Linked DNA regions of Homo sapiens: region 1 is linked to region 2. Evidence: promoter capture Hi-C in human tissues and cell types (Jung and others, 2019). All regions are on one chromosome and are shown on one strand. Each heading gives the region's core, a stretch centred on a gene start or on the middle of the fragment in contact. The rest is flanking DNA. Distances are from core to core; before and after follow the strand shown.

Region 1 (3,276 bases), core at 579-3,078, 1.0 Mb before region 2:
CCAATCACAACCCAGCCCAGAACCCAGGACAAGCCAGAGGCCCCTCCACGACGGCTCTACAGCCCTCTCCAGGAGCCCCCAACCTGTCCACTCCCTTCCTGGCAGCCCCTGGGAAAATAAACCAACCCAGACCCCCACTTCAGACCACTGCCTCAGGGGTCTCCTCCTGGGCCCAGGGGCCCCACCTCCACCTCTTCTTGCTTTCCTGCCTTCCCCCTTCCTTCTGCCTAGCCCCATCTGGGCATCCACCCCTCACTCTCACCCAGGCTCACCTCTGCCTAATGTCTGCTCTCCTGTCATTTATTCCCAAAGATGTATCGAGCGCCTACTATGGGCCAGGCCCAGGTCTAGGACTTGAGGATTCAGCTGTGAACGAGGCAGACGGGACCCCTGCCTCAGGGAGCTCCCTGTTCTGTGTGCATGTGTGTGTTTTGGCGGGGAACAGACAATAAAAGAGTATATCCATGCATTTTTCAAAAAGCAAGATTCATTTCCAATTCAGATTGGAGTTAGTGCTGAAAAGAAAATAAAACACAAGGCCGGGTGCGGCGGCTCACACCTGTAATCGCAGCACTCTGGGAGGCCAAGGCAGGCGGATCACTTGAGCCCAGGAGTTCAAAACCAGCCTGGGCAACAGAGTGAGACCTCCATCTTTACAAAAAAATTAAAAAATTAGTCAGGTGTGGTGGCGCATACCTGTGGTCCCAGCTACTCAGGAGGCTGAGGTGGGAGGATCGCTTGAGCCCGGGAGGTTGAGGCTGCAGCAAGCTGTGATCGTACCATGGTACTCCAGCCTGGGTGATAGAGCAATTTTTTTCTTTTTTTTGATGTTTCAAAAAAATTAAAAACAGCGACCTGATGGAAGGGCTACCTGACACCAGGTGGTCAGGAAAGGCTTTGAAAGCCTGGAAGGTTGGGCCATGGGGAGTCCTAGGATTCCAGGCTGAGGCAGCACACGTGCAAAGGCCCTGCGGTGGGACATTGAGGGAAGAGCAAGAGGAGACCCCTGTGGCTGGAGCGGAGTGAGCAGGGGGAGTGGTGAGAGGCGAGGTCTGCACGGACCAGGAAGGCCGACCATGAATTGGGAGGAGTTTGGATTTATTCCAAGACAGATAGGAAATTCTCTCTTTCTCTCAACCTCCATTTCCAAGCACAGAGTCTAAATTATTCTAAACACCACCCGAGGAGGCAGGTGCTGTACAGATGGGGAAACTGAGGCAGCACAGAGCGCAAAGGACAGGGGGGCGTCAAATTCCTCACTTGATCGCTCCCTCAGCCAGCCCCTTCCTGGAAAGTGCTTGGGTATCTTTGTAAGCCTCCGTTTCTTGAGAGAGGGCCAGGTTTCGAACCGCAGACATGCCTCTACTCTAGGTAAGACCCCTCTCTCTCTCTCCCGGCCTCGGCGGTCTGCTCTGTGCAATGGGGCCGGCCGAGACGCCCTCTCTCCAGCCAGAGTCTGAGCCTTCGGAGACCACCGCGCGACTCCGCCCCGTCGGCCGCCACTCACGCCCTCTACGGCTCTCCATTGGCAGAACGACCTGCTGCCCCGCCCCCACGGCGCCTTTGCGAGCTAATCATTTTCTTGAGACTGACAGCCTTGCCGGCACCGCCCCCCCTGGGGCGGGAGCAAAGCAGCTGCATATGCGGATTGGTTGAGAGGCAGGGGGCGGGGTGAGTTGGTGAGCGCCGATTGCGGGCAGAGGCAGTGGCACATGCGGATTGGCCGGAGAGAGCGGCGAGGCAGAGCATGATGAGTGTCGATTGGACGGCTGGGCCCAAGTGGGCGGAAAACGGACGGTGCAGGGGGTGGGCCACGTGTCCAGCCCTAACGAAACGGTAACCAGCCCTGGGAAGCCCGCAAGAGGCCTCAGCGGTGGCCGTCCGAGAGCCGAGAGGTGAGGGTGCCCCCGCCTCACCTGCAGAGGGGCCGTTCCGGGCTCGAACCCGGCACCTTCCGGGTAAGTCCTCTCTCGCTGCTGGCGCTATTTGGAGACCGACCTTACCGCCTAGCAGATGGGGAAACTGAGGCTCTGCCTGGGCGTCCCGGGCCAAGGTCACAGGACCAGAAGGAGGACTCCACCTGGCCCCGCCAGAATTGGCTGGCCAGAGATTGGAAGCGTCCCCGGGTCGCGCCTGCCGCCTCTGTAACAGCGCTGGGGGGTGGGCAGGTTTAATCCCCATTTCTCCGACGAGAAAACTGAGGCTAAGACAAAGAGAAACTTGCCCAAGGTCACACAGCCAGGAAGTCCGGGCTCCAAGGCCGGGTTTCCGAGACCGGGTGGGGAAATCAACGGCCCTACCCCGCCCCCTGTTGCCGCCCACCTCCAGCCACGCCCCCTTTGGCCTTGGGTACCCTCCACCCAGGCTGAATCTCTCCTCGTTCCGCAGGACACGCCCAACCCTCTCCAGCCCAGACCTCCCCTTCACATCTCTCTCTCTCACACACCCACCCTCACCCCAATTTTTCATCTCCCAAAAACCAGTTCCCCTCCCCGGGATCCCCTATGAATCTTCAGATCATGCCCCTCGCTCGACCAGAAACTGGGGGCCTTTCTCCCCGACTTTCCCCACCGTCCCAGCTGCCCCTTCCTGACTCTCCCCTGTCCCACTGGGCCCCAGCGCCGACCTCCTGCTCTCTGGCCTTTTGCCTCCAGTTCAACCGCACGGCGGGGGCCTGAAGCCATCTTTGTATTTTGCATTTTGAACACTTTTTCTGGAATAATACCACAAACGCAGAAAATCGAACGGTTTGCAAATACACAGCTTAAATAAATATTTATAAAGGGAGCACCCTGGTGTAAACAAGTATCCAAAGAAAAAAGTCAAACATGCGCCACATCCCAGGATCTCCCGCCGTCGTCGTTTCCATCACTGTGGTCCAAGGGCAGTCACTGTCCTGGCTTCTGACGCCATAGATCAGTTTTGCCGGGTTTTGGCTTTATGCCAACCCTTTATTGTATATAGTATTGACTAGACAACTTGTTGCACATTGTCCAGAATTCAGAAGAAACAGAATAGGACCCAGTGAAAAGGCTCCTACAGACTTCCCCGGTGCCTGGTTCACCCGCCTGAGTCTCCCGTTTCTTGCTTGTTTGCCAGAGATAGCAGATATAGATATAGGCAACACAGACACATTTTCCTCTCCCTTTTTTCTTTGGCACAAAAAGGAGCATTCCATACACACTGTTCTGCTTCTTTTTCACTTCTCTCAAACATGTTTTCGTATTGTTACTTAAAGAGCTTCCTCGTAATTTTTTCTGGCTGCGAGGAATAACA
Region 2 (3,620 bases), core at 248-2,747:
AGCTGAGACTGCGCCATTGCTCTCCAGCCTGGGCAACAAGAGCGAAACTCTGTCTCAAAAAAAAAAAAAAAAAAAAAGCTAGGGAGTACGGGTTGTGAAAGGAACCTGAACCAAGAGGATGGATGCTATAATGAGAAGAGTCTGAGGGAACCCTTAAGGCTGAGAGGGTGGAAAGGTTTCCGAGAACTCTGTGAAAAGGGAGGCCTTTCAGGGAGCATCGAGGGGGCTGGAAGAATATTGGAGAAGAGAAGAAAATTTTGAGAGGAAAAGGGGATTTTCCGGAAGTTAACCCTGGAAGCAAGTGGTCGTTGAGCGTTCCTGAGAATGCCAACGTGAACCCCAACGTGAAGAAATGGGTTCTTAGCACTGACAGACTGATTTCAAAAAGGTCTCCGAAGGGCAGTAAAGAGACCTACGTGGGAGTCCTCAGTGGGACTACCCCTGCCTGCTTCCACGGGAGGTTCCCGGAAGCAGGGGTAGGGCTGGGAGAGAAAAGGGATCACCGTGGTTGGGTGTCTGGACATAAAGCTTTGGGAATGCCAAAGAAGACCCAAAACATGTTCAACGAATTAAGAGTGGGGTACAGAGAGAATTGGAAGAAAAGTGGAGTGTCTCCGGAGCAAGGATTCAGGAGCCTAAACTCCCGAGAGGGAGTAACTGATAAGTAGGATAATTAATCCCGCAGGAGAACCGGAATTCCCACGAGTTGACGGGATAGGAACGGGAGTCTGGAGCTGGGGAAAAGCCCTAGAAACGCAAAGGCTTAACTTAAACAGGACACAGGGCGTGGGTGGAGACGAGGGATCGTGGCGGGGACACAGGAAGAGGAGCCCCAGGGCAGAAGGGAGATTAGAGGTAAGGTCAGGAGTTGGGGGCTGGACAGAGGACTCCCGGACGGGTCTCAAGAACAGAGACAGGCATCAGACGCGAGGCCTGAGGTCCCGGGAGCACCTGGCCGTCCCGCAGGCTGGGCGAAGGCAAAGGAGGACGCCGGGTGGAGGAGGCCGCTCGGATCCCCACGACTAGCCACGGAGCCACTGCCCAGGCCGCGCCTGCGCACCACGCCCCAGAAAGACGCGCAGGAGCCGCCCGTCGCCCGGGGCAACACCCGGTCAACGGCGAGTGAGGGGCGCCCCGGGGCCCCGAGAACTCCAAGGGAGAGGAACGGAAATTAGAAGACGACGGCGCACGCGCGCTAGTGCCCGAACGCGCGGCCCCAGGCCCGGTGCGCAGGCGCAGTGGCTGCCCCTGCGCCGCCACACCCTGTCGACGCTCGCGCGCGGCGTCTGCTGCTGCGACGGCCGAGAAGGCCTCGGGGCTCGCGGGGCGCAAGACCAAAAGGAGATGCTATCCCCGCCCGCCTGCTCGCCTGCCGCTCCCCTTACCAACCAGGATCCTTCGCTGCAGGGACACGCCAACAACCACCCAGGCGATCAGCAACACGGCCACGACACCGCTGTGCCACCCGGCTGGCTCTGGTCTTCTTTGGCTTCGACGTCCTGACCGCGGCGTCCTGACGTCACGCGGCGGCCTTGCACCGCCTCCCTCGGCCCTGCACAGCCAATGAACGCCACGAGCTGCGCTTGAGCCCGCCTTCCTGCCCACGCACTTACGCATGAACATTTTAAGGCAGACCGGAAGTCTGGGTGGGGACGGTGGCCCCGAGGAGACAAGCGTGGCCGCATTAGCTCTTTCTGCCTCCCACGCAGCCTTATTTTTTTTATTGTTGTTTTCTTGTTGCTGTTGTTGTTGTTCTCGGAGACGGAGTCTTGCTCTTGCTCTGTCGTCGCCCACGATAGAGTACAGTGGCGTGATCTCTGCTCACTGCAACCTCCGCCTCCTGGGTTCAAACAATTCTGCCTCAGCCTCCGGAGTAGCTGGGATTACAGGCGCGCGCCACTATGCCCGGCTAATTTTTGTGTTTTTAGTAAAGACGGGGTTTCACCATGTCGGCCAGGCTGTTCTCGAACTCCTGACCTCGTGATCCCTCCGTCTCGGCTTCCCAAAGTGCTGGGATTACGGGCGTGAGCCACCGTGCCCGGCCGCAGCCTTGTTTTGACTGAGTCAGTGGGAGCCATTACTGTTCCTAAATGTAAACTGGCGTGACAGGAGTTCCGGGATTGTCCACAGCACGGTGATGTGGAAGCCCTGGGGAGAGAATGATAAAGAAAGGGGATGAGGAACAGCTCCACCCGGAAGAGCGGGCTTCCCTAGCAAATGAATCTGGAAGGGCGCAGGGGAGGGGGCACGGCGAGTTCAGATGGACCGAGGCTGGAAGCTGACGCGGTTGGAGGGGGATGGGTGTAGCTGTTGGCAGTGGCGCTGGGGTGGAAGTGTGTGGGGTCACAGATGTGTAAGGGTGGGCGCGGAGCAGACCCCCGAAGGTCCCTGAGGTCAGGCTGAGGCATTGGACCAAATCCGTACATAGGCATTTCTCTGAACTGCGCGCCACCTTTTGAGTGCCATCTGTTTCCGTCCAGGACTCTGATACAACTATCCAGTCCGCTGCAGGGACCGGTCACTGTGTCACAGTAAGTGGTGGGATTTAAGAGGCAGTTTTCCTCCTCATGTTCTACCATTATGAACGTCTAGCTTGAAAAATACATACCATTTTCATAACTACGTATTATTTTGTTAGTGCTAGCATAGTAGATCTTTTTCCGTTATTTTACTCTGTGGGGGGGGGGGGGTTTGTTTTGTTTTTGTTTTTGTTTTCTTTTTGGTACTAAGCTTTTTGTTCTGGAATAATTTTGGATTTATTCAAAACGTTGCAAAGACCGGGCGCGCTGGCTCACGCCTGTAATCCCAACACTTTGGGAGGCCGAGATGGGTGGATCACCTGGGGTCAGGAGTTCAAGATCAGCCTGGCCAACATGGTGAAGTCCCGTCTCTACTAAAAATACAGAAATTAGCTGGGCGTGGTGGCGCGTGCACCTGTAATCCCGGCTACTCGGGAGGCTGAGGCAGGAGAATCGCTTGAACCCAGGAGGCCAAGGTTGCAGTGAGCCGAGGTTACACCATTGCACTCCAGCCTGGGCAACAAGAGTGAAATTCTTGTCTCAAAAAAAAAAAAAAGAAAAGTTGCAAAGATCATAAGCAGTCCACCATGTTTTATGCCCACTTTCTTCTGATGCTGTCATCACAAGCACCAACAAAAGTGGTTTGTTGTAGATACTGACATGATGCATTACTGTAACTAAAACCCAGACTTTACTGGGATTTCACCACCTTTTCCTCCAATGTTTTCTTTACATGCCAGGGTACAAGCCAGGACCCACGTTCCATTTAGCTTCCTTTTACCTGTTGTATTTAGGGTGGGTTTCTTGTAGATAGCATGTAGTTGGATCTTGCTTTTTTTTGCCCAAGCGAACAGTCTCTGCCTTTTAAAAGAGGTGTTTATAACTGTACTTTTATTTTTTATGTCTTATTCTTTAGCATTCTGTACACAGATACAGCGATAAAATGAAATGACTGGAACTTAAATGTGAAAACTCTTTACAAGTAAGCCCACAATTAGATACATTTATCTTACATGTCAGGGAAAAAAATTATGTAAACAGGACAAATTATATCACAAAAGAATCCCAAAGTAGAAAAAATACCTAAGAAATGTGTCTAAC

Evidence for each region. Contacts are between HindIII fragments. The study calls those that stand out against the background at their distance.
Region 1: a contact is called between the fragment with the promoter of ISOC2 here and the fragment with the promoter of LENG8 in region 2, in 1 of the 25 tissues and cell types used here (mesenchymal stem cells).

The regions. Positions count from the first base shown.
Region 1 is chr19:55,460,194-55,463,469 of GRCh38, reverse strand. It overlaps ISOC2 (isochorismatase domain containing 2), which reads left to right and starts at 1,828. Exons shown (of 6, transcript NM_001136201.2): 1 at 1,828-1,958. C19orf85 (chromosome 19 open reading frame 85) reads left to right here. Exons shown (of 2, transcript NM_001386794.1): 2 at 1-469. RefSeq lists an enhancer at 1-443. The HindIII fragment of the contact is 25,257 bases long and covers 1-3,276 here.
Region 2 is chr19:54,447,076-54,450,695 of GRCh38, reverse strand. LENG8 (leukocyte receptor cluster member 8) reads right to left here and starts at 1,497. Exons shown (of 16, transcript NM_052925.4): 1 at 1,386-1,497. LENG8-AS1 (LENG8 antisense RNA 1) reads left to right here and starts at 1,658. Exons shown (of 3, transcript NR_126418.1): 1 at 1,658-2,134; 2 at 2,481-2,531. RefSeq lists an enhancer at 840-1,747. The HindIII fragment of the contact is 4,932 bases long and covers 1-3,620 here.